4 separate regions of the Homo sapiens genome follow, and all the other regions are linked to region 1. Evidence: promoter capture Hi-C in 16 types of primary human blood cells and fetal thymus (Javierre and others, 2016). All regions are on one chromosome and are shown on one strand. The core of a region is centred on a gene start or on the middle of the fragment in contact, and the rest is flanking DNA. Distances in the headings are between cores, read along the strand shown.

Region 1 (3,244 bases), core at 461-2,960:
GCAGAAATTTCAAGTCACACTGCAGACCATTTATATTTCTATCCTGTGTTGTATCCATATTTCATGTAAAATATGAAGCTAAGTTGGCAGAGATTCGTGTATCCACACTGAAGGTCCATGTTTGGCAAAAGACTATACCGATGGCATGCATGCTTTAATTGATGCCATGAAATAGCCCTTTACAATTGGTACTGTTATTCTAGGGCTGCTTTTTCTCTTTATACAAGGTGGGACCATGCTTTCCAAATAAAACTCAGCATTCACTGACTTATAGAATTGTAGTTTTGAGAACCACGCTCAAACATTGTCAAAAAATTCTAGGGCATGTACCTTTTAAAATGATCTGTTGTGTTCTTTTCACTTTCCATTCTCTTTTGGTGCATGCTGCTGCTACTGTTTGCTGTTAAATGGTTGCTGGTTTCACTTCAGATGGGTGCAGGTTTGAGTTAACGAAGGTAAAAGCTAGGTCATTTGAGAACAATATGACTTTTCTGAAAGCTAAATCATAGAGAAACTGCCAGATATAAAAACAGATAAACTATACATTTAAAAACTCATTTTAATAAAAACATATTATGATAAAAAGATAATTCCAGTCTGTTTGATTCTAGAGTCTATTCTCTTAATTATATTGTTAAGCAACAAAATGGGGAAGGAAGCAAACTTAAGTTGAACTTTCTGAGCCTGAGTTTCATTTTCTATGAAATAAGGATAGTAATATCTCATTGAATTGCTGTGGGGACTAAATTAGATAATGTATGTAAAATGCAAAAGACAATCTATAAATGTTTACTTCTCTCCTGCCGTCCATCTAGCTCAAACTTGCACTAGAGGTGATTAGGTATTTAGAGTTCAAATAACTGAGTTGTGATGTCAGCAAAATCAAAATTAAGCAGACTGAATTTCCAGATGTGTCCAAATGTCAATGAAACCAATATTTAAGCAGAGATCTACTGGACTGCGCTGTAACTCCATAAGCCTTGAATAATTGAGGATTGACTGTAAACTGAGGATCTGTGTTCTGCATTATGACCTTGCATTAACAGAGACTAAACAATTGAAGGTTTGGAGGTAAGTGAAATAGCCTGGTGCCTGTAATATTTCAGGAGGAAATGCAACAATATAACAAGCAACACAAGTACTGATATTAATTGAGAAAGGTCTCATTTATCTCTCTGGAAAATTTCTCCCTTCAAATGCCACTTATCACGAGAGTGTGGATTCTCTGATGTATTTTAGTGATCACTCAGTTATCTTCAGTACTTGCTCTCCACCCTGGTCTTATAATACAGACTTTTCTGCGTTTTCAGTTGTTCCAGGCTCTAGTCACATCTCAGTTATGTGCAATAATAGTCATTGTGGAGTTGCTGCAAATCAAAATTTCCCAGGTAATACCAAGTCTCATTTAACTTCCAGAGCCATCCATCACCAAACATTTTATTGGAGAACCAAAAAGGGTGGAGTAGGGGAGCTGAGTGAATTTCTGAGTCTGCTGGAGTTGATAACTGTAAGTGTCATGGCCCCAGTATTACTAGCCATAGATAGAGATAATTTAAAAAATCATCCCTGTAACCCTAGGTACTGATTATCTATTGCTACATAGCAAGCCGCCTTGAAACACATGGCTTAAAATAACAATTTATTTTTATATCTCACAGTTCTGTGGCTTAACTGGTCTCAGCTTGGCATCTCTCTTGTAGTTGAAGTCAAATAGAGGCTAGGGCTACATTCGTCTAAAGGTTCAGTTGAGTTGGAATGTGGCATGGCTGGCAGTTGATGATGACTGTTTCCTAGGAGTTCTGCTGGAGCTACATGCCTGAACACCAACCAATAACCTTTTCATGTGGCTGAGACCTTTCATATGGCCACAGTCCTCAGAGACAGCATCCCAAGAGTGATCCTTTTAAGAGGCTCAGGTAGAAATTGCAAGGTGTTTTTACAGTCTTTTCAGAGGTTGGAGTGTCACTTCTGTCATATTCTGCTGGTTCAACAAGCCAGTAAAGCCAAGCCCAGAGTAAGGTAATAAGACTCCACTTCTTGATGAGGAAATGTCAAAGTCATATTGCGGAACAGCGTATTAGATAGGAGATACTATGGTGATCATCTTTGGAAGGTGCAATCTGCCACATCCAGTTCTTCTGTTCCAGATGCCAACAGAGCTCACCTGTATCCAGAACACTCCTGGGCTCTGGCTGGTTTAAATACTTTCTGCATTTACTGGTCAACTCAGAATAATTTATAATTAGTAAGATGTATAGAAGAAATCAGAAAGTATCAATTTTCATAACATATCATGATTCTTTCACAAATCAGACATTCTTGCATTCTTATTCTTGTTGCCAGTGTTTTGCTCCATATGACATTCACAATTCTGTATTCATGTGTACTTTGGCCACTGAAATCCTGTTGTCCTCTTTACCTCTGCGTTGACCTTTTTGTGTTTCAGATGCTTGACTTGCTCTTGATCCCTGGTACCCAAGACTTTCATCACCTCTGCTTTCAAAGTTTGGCCTCCAGGCCTTTGAACTACCTCTAATAACTGTTTTTTTTTTTTTTTTTTTTTTTGAGAGGAGTCTCGCTCTGTCTCCCAGGCTGGAGTGCAGTGGTGCAATCTTGGCTCACTGCAAACTCTGCTCCCGGGTTCACGTCATTCTCCCACCTCAGCCTCCTGAGTAGCTGGGACTACGGGTGCCCGCCACCACGCCTGGCTAATTTTTTGTATTTTTAGTAGAGACGGAGTTTCACCATTCACAGGATGGTCTCGATCTCCTGACCTCATGATGTGCCCGCCTCGGCCTCCCAAAGTGCTGGGATTACAGGCATGAGCCACCGCGCCCGGCAATAACTGTTAGCTTAGCTTCCGTAGCTGCTGCCTTTACCACTTGACGTACAGATAATTGATGCGAATGCAGAGGAAACCTGAATGTTTGGCTTTCCTATCTTGACCCCACTTCTACCCAGTCCTTTTTAGGTTTTAATTTTATTAACTTGCTCCCATTGGTGTCTCCTTCCCATCAGGATGGAGGTATATTTATGCCTAAAATCTGAATTTTTCCCCTTCACGGTGAAAAACAAAGATTCCCTGCCACATGCCTTTCGTATAAGAGCCCTAAGACTTAGTGTTTTCAGTCTTCAACATCTCCTATATTATTAGGCTATTATTCTCTCTGAAGGCTATTTCTGTACTTTAATTCAGGAGGTATATTTGCTCTAGTCTCAGTCATTTAGTATGTTTTTGCAGGGA
Region 2 (3,244 bases), core at 380-2,879, 300 kb before region 1:
CTATGACAAATAATATTCCACCATAAGGACGTCCTAGATTCCACTTCCCCGTCATCGGGTGATGAACATTTGGGTTCTTTCCACTTTTCAACTGCCGTGAGTCACACTGTCATGAACATTCATGGACAAGTTTTGCATAGACACATATTTTCAGTTCTCTTGGGTGTACACCTAGGAGAGGAATTGCTGCGTCACATGGTACCTCTGCGTATAACTTTGAGAAAAACTGCCGAGTACTCTTCCTCGGGGCTCTGTTTCAGAAGGACCCTCCCTGCTTAGATTTGACTTTTTCACTAGCTAAGGAAGGCCATTGGCAGAGGCCGAGGAAAAGAGGGGGGTCTGATCACCTGAGATCCTGCGCACTCACACACAAGCCTTCAGGCATTCCCTCCCCTCAGCAGCCCAGACTCCATCCTCACGGAGAGCCACCATGCCGCCTCTGCCACCCTGCATGACCCCTTTCCCCCTCATTGTGTCTCCTTTGCCCGCCGGCTTCTTTGCATTCTCTCTGCTTTGAACCATGATACCCACTCTCACCCAGCGTCCTGCGCCGGCTGGGAGGGATCGGGTCACAGAGGTCTCGAGGGGCCAGTCTGCACTGGGAAAGAATACAGCTGAGGCTGCACTTCCCACTCATTTCACCAGTGATCTAGAAATTTTCTGAGCCAATGAGCAGTGTCATTTCAGAGTCCTGGGGGAAGGAAACTGTCTAGAAGGGTGTTCTCTTCAGACCTGTTGGTTTCCTTAGGAATAAGTAAGTGAGTCCAAGTGAGGAAGGAACTTCTCAACCACGTGAACTTGAGCATATTTCTTAGCTTCTCCAAGACTCAGTTTCTTCATCTGTAAAATGGGTTTAAACTTGCCTACCTGATAAAAGGATCAAGTGAGATACCGTGATACCATGTTCAAGGGACTCAAAAAAATGTTCCTGGTCTCCCCAGCTGCCCTCCCTCCTGGTTAGGTAGGAGTGGCTCGTACAGACACTGACTTTGTAGTAGGACTCACCTCCCTTTTTTCCTTTCTTCCCCCTTCTCACCCCTTGCTCTTTCCTTTCACCACTTCCTCTCTCCTCCTGCTATTGTCTTACTCTGCCCTCAGCTCCTACCCCAAATATGGGTATTCTCATGGTGTGGACCCAGGGAACTGCCAGTTCTCAAATCACCCGTGTGCTCTTAGGGAGGCAACTCAGGCCAGATCCTCTTAGGGCAGATCAGATTATGCCCTGGGTCATTTTGCAGTGCAGATTCCCAGGTCACAGTGGTGGCATGCACAGCCAGGCAGCATCCAGCCTGGCACCCGCTGGGCCCCAGAGAACATGGACTCCCTGGAGGGGGTGGCATGGTCTGTTTCGCCTGTCTGCCTCCCTGGGTTTCAGTTTCTTTCCTCGCGAGATCCTAGCCAGGGGCTAGAGCTTTGAGTTACACTCGGATTTGAAGTCATCCCAGAGGTCTGTGCTGCAGGAGGAAGCACGGGCTTCCATAGCACTGTGTCCTGGGCCCTGACTTTGTGCCTGGCACCGTGCTTGGCTCGGAGCATGCAGAGGGAAAGGACACACACCTGCTGTGGGTCCAGTGTTCCAGACACAACGTGGAGTCAAGTGGCTACCAGCGAATAAGGGAATGAATGGTTTTCCAGGCTGAAGATTTCATACTGTATCAATTATTATTTTTAAGTAATTTTATATTCCAAAACAGATAATATGGTTCATACAGAAAGTTTAGAAAGCAGAAAAACACGAAGGGACAAAAACCATCATCCTTATCTCCTCTCAGATGAGTTTCTTCAAAAGTGCCTGTCACTTAATTCAGAAAACTAAAAAGCAAAGACACCAAAATGTGTAGCTAGGAAATACTAATTATGAAGTAACGGGGCTTTGTTCAGAGACCTGACCCTTCCCTTACAATGTCACTCAGGGCATCCCATTTGAGGGTAAAGCTCTTGGAAAAATCCTTCTCTCTTCAAGAGATCCAGTCCACAGAAAAAGTTCTCTCACAACAAGCCAAGACTCTGAGCCTCCTGGGTGAGCCCAAGCTCTCCAAACAACTGACGGGCACATGCATATACAGAAAGACAAACCTAGCTCTCTGCCGGGGTCCCGCGGCTGCCAAATCCCTTTTCCAGGGAGGTGTGTTATTACCACCTCTTCCCACTGTTTCTGTCCCAAATATCAAATGAGCTTAAGGCAGCCTTGGGAGGTGGAACCTCCCAGCTCAGGAGCACAGGCCCAGCCTTCAGCGACCCCTGATGTGCCTTCTCTCTCGTTTCCAGCTGTCAGGAATGACAGGAACAAGAAAAAGAAGGAGACTTCGAAGCAAGAATGCACAGAGAGCTATGAAATGACAGCTGAGTTGGACGATCTCACAGAGAAGATCCGAAAAGCTCACCAGGAAACTTTCCCTTCACTCTGCCAGCTGGGTAAATACACCACGGTAAGAGATACTCCTGCCCCAGGCTGCTGGGAGTGTGGAAACCTTGTACGTGCATGTGTGCAGACACACACACACACACACACACACACACACACACACACACTTTGCACTGGGCCTGGCAGGGGCTTGCATGCTAGCCAGCTGGGGCTATGTAGTAGCCACTTCTTTCTGTGAGGTAGCCTTTGGGCGTGGGCAATCAGTGAGTAGGCTGAGTGCCGCCTCACTGCAGTCATGCACACATGCATTCACTCTAGATGCATTAACTGAGTATTTGCTATACGACAGGCTGTGTTCTAAGCCCTGGCAACATGAACTATTCAGTGCTGCTCTCAGAGACTTTGATCTGGTGAAGGAAACAAGTAAAGCCAGTGAAGCGTTACATGGGTCATGACGGACCTCTGTACGGAGGGACCCAGGGGGACGGGGCCTGATCTTTTAAAAACCCCAATCCATCTGTGAAATCCAACCAAGATAAAGAGGCCATCCCCTGGGCCAAGGTTTGCCTTCTGTGAGAGGACATGTACAAAACCCCCAAGCCAGGGCCTAGAAAAGTTTGGGGTAGGCATGCCCCATGCCCAGTTGAGTGAATGTTCCCCCTCTGCTTCCCAGCGTTCCACTAGGAATGGCCTTTCACTGAGATTGGAAATAAAGAGAGGCAGGAAAAAGAGAAGTGAGATAAAAAGGTAGGAGGTGTATGTTGGCTGGTCTAGGTTGTGCCAGTGGAGGGGTCATGAGGTGCTTTAATTTTTCCAAGTGGTTTTTGCATGTATTATGTTCACTGATGTATATTTCTAACTTGTGGCATGTAATAGACA
Region 3 (3,244 bases), core at 486-2,985, 290 kb before region 1:
CGCCTCTCTCTGCTATATCACCTCGTGGCACTGCCTCGAGCCTCAGTCAAGCTCTTTCCTGACTCAGAGCCTTTTTACATCCCATTCCGTCTGTCTAGGTTACCCACCCTCTTCTCCTCATGTTCTTCCTGGCCTATTCCTCATCTCAGCTGAAATGCCATCTCTTCAGAAAAGCCTTCTCCGACCAGCCACCCGATTCCTCCCTCACACTGCAGGTCTGTCCCAAGCTCTTAAGGCATAGCGTAATGACAGGTGCATTTCCCAAAAGCTTCTCCCCCAGTCTGTTGTCTCAGTGAGAGTAGGAACCATCTTAGGGTTGGTCGCCGTGGCAGGGTTCCAGGCTCGAAAGGGGGATTTAGTGAATATTTGTGAATGGATGAATGAGCAAATGAATTAAAAGTCAAAATTCAAATCCCAGCATATATGCTGCTTTTGGAATATCACGCCTGTTAAGGCTTCAAGATTTAATGTCTTTCCCTACAAGACACACGGCTTCCTGAGTCCTGCCACCCACTGCCCTTACTGCCCCCAAGGAAAATATTCCCATGCCAGTCACAGCAGCACCCTCCTTCTGGTGACGCAAAAGTGACGGCCTGTGTGACTTCAAAATGTGATTTGTGGCTCCTTGACGCCCTGGAGACTGTGCAGCTGTATAGCCATGGAGGGCCGTTCCCATGTGAACCTGTCCCTCCCTCTCCCCTTCCTGGGGACTCAGTAGAGACAAGAGCCCAGGCTGGTGGGGAGCGAGCTCTGGGCTTAAAGACCCACAGCCTGAGCTCAGGCTTCAGCGTTGCGCCTGGGCGTCTGTGCCATCACGAGGAGGCCCTGGGTCTCTCCTAGCCTCAGCTTACCCACCTGTAGATGTGGCACGATTACCCCATGAGGCACCAGGAATTGCTGTGGGGTAGCCAGTGTAGCGGTTAAGAGGGTGGGCTTTGCAGTCCAACTCCCTGGATTCAAATCCCAGCTCTGCCATTTAGGAGCTGAGTGAACTTAGGGAAGCTAACTGACCTCTCTAAGCCTCAGTTTCCTCACCAATTGAATAAGTAGAATAGTAGCTCCTCCCCATTCAGGTTGCTGGAATAAAGAATTGAGTTAATTAGTTCCTGGCACATAGTAAGTGTTCCTTTAAATAAGCTGTAATCATCAGTCTTGAGTAAGCCTAGGCTGCCTTTATGAAGTGTGGTGTCTGAGCTGCTAGGCAATAGCACCTGGGGCTGTGCTGTCTAGTTCAGCAGCTGCGAGGCAGCTGTGGCTCATGAGCACCTTGAAATGTGCCTGGTGTGAAGTGTGTATTGCAAAATAAACAGTCTTTTAAAGACTTAGTATTTAAACATGTATAATATCTCCTTAATGATTTTTTTGTATTGATTACATGTTGAAACAAAAATAATTTGGATATCTTAAGTTAAAATAGATTATTAAAATAATTCCATCTATTTCTCTTAACATTGCAAAACAATGGCTGCTAGAGTACTGGTCTGCAAAACAGAGACAGTAACGGTAACAAGGAACTCCTGCTGCTTCTAACATCTGTATTTTCTCCTCGGTTAAGGCAGGCTGGCTACAGGTCCCATTGGGGAAAACATTTTGTTCCCATGAGCTCATCACAACAGGCACTATATGCGCTGCGTGTGTCTTTGTTATTAGTATCACCACTTAAACATTGTTACTAGTATCACTACCTAAACATTCCCACAGGCATATGGGGATAAATTGTCGAATCAGATCAGGATCTGCCCACATGTTGCCAAACACAATCAGTGTAGAGTGACCAAGATGGTTGAGCAACCTGAGCTTTCTCCTTTGCCTGAAAACTGGGCAACCCCTTGATGCCTCCCTCTGAGGTTTACAAGATAGAAGAGAGTCTGATGAAGGAATTCAGTTTATTCATTCAATAAATATTCATTAACCACCTGCTGTATGGAGGACATTGTTCTAGATATTAAAGACACAACAGAGAGCAAGACAGGTAAAGAGCGGTCTCATTCTCAGAGCTCATATTCTAGAAGGGAGATAGGCCAGGAAACTCAGATGGTGACAACTGCTATGAAGAAAAGAAAACAGGGTGGTGGTTTGCATTGTGAAATACTACACAGCAGTGAAAAAGAATGAACTATTGCTGTGTACACTCATATGGGTGAATCACACAGAGAATATTGAGTGAATAAAAGCGGACACAAAAGAGAATATTCTGTATGATTCCATTGATCTGAAGTTCAAGAACTTGCAAAACTAACTTGTAGGAATATAGGTCAAATAATGGTTACTTCTGAGGAAGAGGTTTGATTAGGAGAAGTCAAAGGAGCCGGTAGGTGCTGGAAATATTCATATCTTGATCTAGGTAGTAGTTGCACAGATACATGGTTAGGGAGAATGCCTTAAGCTGTACTCGAGATTTGTGTGCAGCTCCAGGCATGTGTGCTATATTCATTATCTATTGCAGTGTAACAAAATACCACAAAACTTAGCAGCTTAAAACATAAGCATTATTATCTCCCGTAGTCACAGTGGGTCAGGAATCTGGTACTGACTTCATTGGGTGGTTCTGGCTCGGTATCTGTCATGAAATAGCAATCAAGACCCCGGCCAGAGCTGCAGTCATCTAAAGAATTCCAGAGGCTGGAAGCTCTCCGCCTCCACAATCGCTCATCACATTTGTCTAGGAATTTAGTGCTGGTTATTGATGGGAGGACTCAGTTTCTTCCTCTGTGGACCTGTCCGTGGGGCTGGTTAACTGTCCTCTTGAAATGTCAGCTAGCTTCCCCAGAGCAAGAGATTCAAGAGACAGCAAGCAAGAAGGAAGTGACAATGCTTTTTGTGACCTAGTTTCAGAAGTCACACACCATCACTTTCACCATATTCTATTTGTTAAAAGCAAATCATTAAGTCCAGGCCACACTCAAGGGGAGAGGAATTAAGCTCCACCCCTTAAAGGGAGTAGGATCAAAGAATTTGCACACATATTTTTAAACCACCACACGTTATACCTCAGTTTTAAAACAATGTTATTTCTTATTCCAAAAACCAAAAGGGTGGTGGGATAGAAAATAATGGGTTTTAGGAAGCATTTTCACTGAGGCTTTAGAGGAGGTGACATTTAAGCTGAACTCTGAGAAAAGAGCCATGTGAAGATCAGGGAAAAGCACTGAAGCCAGAGGGAAAAGCAAGTGCAAACACTTTGCCTCAGCAGTGAGTCATCGAAGCTTCACAAAGAAGACCAAGATGGCCAGAAGTTCATGAG
Region 4 (3,244 bases), core at 233-2,732, 260 kb before region 1:
ACATTAGCCTCTCTAAGACCAACATGCACCCTGTTTCCTCAGCTCTGAACATTTTTTCTGATGTTTCCTTCTTCCGGCTAACTCTGGTCAATCCTGCTTGAGGTTAGGTCAACGCCATTTTTTTTTTTAATCCTCAATAGCACCTATCAGTGCCAATGACACAGGATGTGCTTGGTAGTTTAAGGACAAACACAAGTAAATAGTAAAAGATGACAGAGTACTTTGTAAGCCAAACAGACCCTTTCCCACTCTAAGTCTTCTCTAATGGATTATGATGTAGCACTAAAGTTTATACTTTAAAGTTGATATACTTATGGTTGGGTTTTTGGAGGTTTTTGTTTTGTTTTGTTTTGGCTTCCAAGATTTTTATTTTTATTTATTTATTTTTTTTTGAGATGGAGTCTCACTCTTGTCAACCAGGCTGGAGTGCAGTGGCACAATCTCGGCTCACTGCAAGCTCCGCCTCCCGGGTTCGCACCATTCTCCTGCCTCAGCCTCCCAAGTAGCTGTGATACAGGCGCCCACCACCACGCCCAGCTAATTTTTTGTATTTTTTAGTAGAGACGGGGTTTCACCATGTTTGCCAGGATGGTCTTGACCTCCTGACCTCATGATCCGCCCGCCTCAGCCTCCCAAAGTGCTGGGATTACAGGCGTGAGCCACCGTGCCCGGCCGGCTTCCAAGATTTTAACTTAGAAGGCAGCTGAGTGGAGTGTTTCTATTTCTCATTTTAAAAGCTGAATTAAGTAGCTCTTTACAATATGTGATCCTTTACCAATATGTTTTCCTTCTATAGATCAACTGCTGTCATAGAAGGATTTCCTATTACCATTGAAATATATTTTGAATAAAACAAAGCATGATTTAAACACGCATTAAAATTTTTTAAATTATACATATATTTCATTATAGAAATGAGTCTATCAATGACAAGAGGTATGTCATACCTTCTTCTTCTTCAGCAACTTTTTGCTGGCATCTGCCTTCATAGCTGTAATTTCAGGAATTATTCTTCTGCCATAAGGTGAGGGCATTGTCTCTTCCAACTGGAGTTTCTTCACCTTAGGTTTGCCAACTTTACCTTTAATTGCTTTTCCAGACATTCCAGCCAGAACATCTTCTCGTTCTTGAGATTCCACTTTCTAAAGTATAATCATAAGGCAGAAGGAACATAAACAACTTCTTAGAAAAGATAATCACTACTTCATAAAATACTGAAACAAATGTTATTCACTCAGTAAAGAATAAAGCTTTCCTTTTAACTTATCTAATTCAAGATTAAATAATGGAAAAAAAATAAAGAATTCTAAATCAGAAGACCTGGATTGTAATCCCAATTCATCTAACTAGTTTCCCATTTGTAATACGAGGGGGCAATAGTGACTAAATGACCTGAGAAGTCTCTGCCAATTCTTGGATCCCGTGATATATTATGGAATCAAGACCTCTGATAACCTAGTATCATCAAAATCCTAGCAAATCATATACAAAGGCAGTTCTGCTAATAAGTATGAAGTTATTTTTTTCTATTGCTTTAGTCGTAATAGAAAATATGAAAAAAAACCTCCTAAATGTAAATTAAAGTCAGAAAGTATGAGAAGTTAAAAGTGCCAATATAATTAGATTGAACTCAGGCAGGTCTATGTAATGATAAATTAGGATATAATCATGATTAATATCCTAGATTTTGCATTTACCAGAATTATTCCTTAAAATAAGCTTTGAAAGGCACAAGGAAAAAATGACATTTCTTTAGAGATTTTTTTAAAAGATCTTTGTAGCACAACAGTTTAATAGAAATTACCCAAGCTTTGAAATCAGATAGTTCTGGATTTCAACTGCACTTCCACTTACTAGTTATGTATCCTCAGGAAATAACAGAGGCCAGTTGCAGTGGCTCACACCTGTAATCCCAGCACTTTGTGAGGCTGAGGTAGGTGGATCACTTGAGCCCAGGAGTTTGACACCAGCCTAGGCAACATAACAAAACCTCATCTCTACACAAAAATGCAAAAATTAGCCAGATGTGGTGGCACACATGTCCCAGCTACTCAGGAGACTAAGGTAGGAGGACTGCTTGAGCCCAAGTGGTTGAGGCTGCAATGAGCCATGATTGTACCACTGCACTCCAGCCTGGGTGACAGAGCAAGACCATGTCTCAAAAAAAAAAAACAAAAAAGCCAGATAATTTATAGAGCATCCACCATGTGCTAGGCATTTAAAAAATCCTGTGATCCCCATTTTATAGATGAGGAAAGTGGGTGTCTGAGAAGATGAGTAATTCTATAATGATATAATTCCTAAGAAAGTGACTTAACCTCTCCAAGCTTCAGGATCCTTATCTGTATAATACAGGTTAATGATAACCTCATTCATTTGAAGTTGTGGTGAGGGTCACTCTAAGCATTACATAGAAGGCTGTGCCAGTGTACAATAGATATTCAATTAATGTTATCATTAGACTTTAAATGATACAGAGAGACATGAAATTTAAGTCTAAATCTTTTTAAATGTTAAAAATAAATACATCCAGAATTTAAATAAGTTGTTTGGACCTATTTCATTAATTGTCAAATAATAAAATAAGATGATAAATTAAAAGTGAAAGAGTATTTTTTGCTAGGGTTGTTTTGAATGACGACTTTTCAATAGTGAGGAAATGTACAGGCATAACCACAAAAGTTTCCTGTGTTTCACTATATTAGTGACCAAATTTAAAGCAATATCAGGATATCAATAATATTAGGAATAATTTTTCTTTTAATATATGATGGCTTCATTTTTAATGAATAATTTTTAAATAAATTATAACTCAGCAGGAAACAATGTGCAAAAAAACTAATTAATGAACAATATACGGAAAGCACAAAAAAAGGAAGACTCACATTGCAGCACTTGAAAGATCGTTGAGGGAGCCTAGAAAAATAGCACTAAAAAATTCTAAATTCTTTTAGGCAGCTAATTTACCACACTTGTTCTTAAGAGTTCTAATTCTGACTTAGACCACTGAAGTAAAAGTAGAGCATGTAGACAATAAATCAACAAAGCAACTTTAAAAAAAAAAAGTAGTATGAGTAATAAATGGTATTTTACATTTTGCTACTCAAAAATCAGGTATTCATAATGCTACCATTAATTCCAATATTTTAATTGGGCAATTTTAGAAAAGGTGTGCTTTTTATATCTCTACATTTTTTTTATTTTTTAAATTAGAATTCTACTTGGAAAAAACTATGTTATAACA

The links. The method cuts DNA at HindIII sites, captures the fragments that hold promoters and counts their contacts. A CHiCAGO score of 5 or more calls a contact.
Region 2: a contact is called between a fragment that was not itself captured here and the fragment with the promoter of LINC00692 in region 1, in 1 of 17 cell types (total B cells). The highest score is 5.2, in total B cells.
Region 3: a fragment that was not itself captured here is called in contact with the fragment with the promoter of LINC00692 in region 1 in 1 of 17 cell types (naive CD4 T cells); the score reaches 5.5 in naive CD4 T cells.
Region 4: a contact is called between a fragment that was not itself captured here and the fragment with the promoter of LINC00692 in region 1, in 3 of 17 cell types (activated CD4 T cells, non-activated CD4 T cells and total B cells). The highest score is 8.1, in activated CD4 T cells.

What each region holds. Positions count from the first base shown.
Region 1 is chr3:25,871,985-25,875,228 of GRCh38, forward strand. It overlaps LINC00692 (long intergenic non-protein coding RNA 692), which reads right to left and starts at 1,711. Exons shown (of 8, transcript NR_034055.1): 1 at 1,657-1,711; 2 at 331-498. LOC124909357 (a long non-coding RNA gene) reads left to right here and starts at 1,794. Exons shown (of 2, transcript XR_007095849.1): 1 at 1,794-2,019. The HindIII fragment of the contact is 8,581 bases long and covers 1-3,244 here.
Region 2 is chr3:25,567,490-25,570,733 of GRCh38, forward strand. It overlaps RARB (retinoic acid receptor beta), which reads left to right. Exons shown (of 8, transcript NM_000965.5): 4 at 2,269-2,429. Among named protein-coding and RNA genes, the nearest start is that of TOP2B, 96 kb to the right of the region's middle. RefSeq lists an enhancer at 825-1,326. The HindIII fragment of the contact is 3,344 bases long and covers 1-3,244 here.
Region 3 is chr3:25,586,074-25,589,317 of GRCh38, forward strand. All of the region lies in intron 5 of RARB (retinoic acid receptor beta), which reads left to right. Among named protein-coding and RNA genes, the nearest start is that of TOP2B, 77 kb to the right of the region's middle. The HindIII fragment of the contact is 2,938 bases long and covers 267-3,204 here.
Region 4 is chr3:25,611,568-25,614,811 of GRCh38, forward strand. TOP2B (DNA topoisomerase II beta) reads right to left here. Exons shown (of 36, transcript NM_001330700.2): 28 at 948-1,142. Among named protein-coding and RNA genes, the nearest start is that of TOP2B, 52 kb to the right of the region's middle. The HindIII fragment of the contact is 469 bases long and covers 1,249-1,717 here.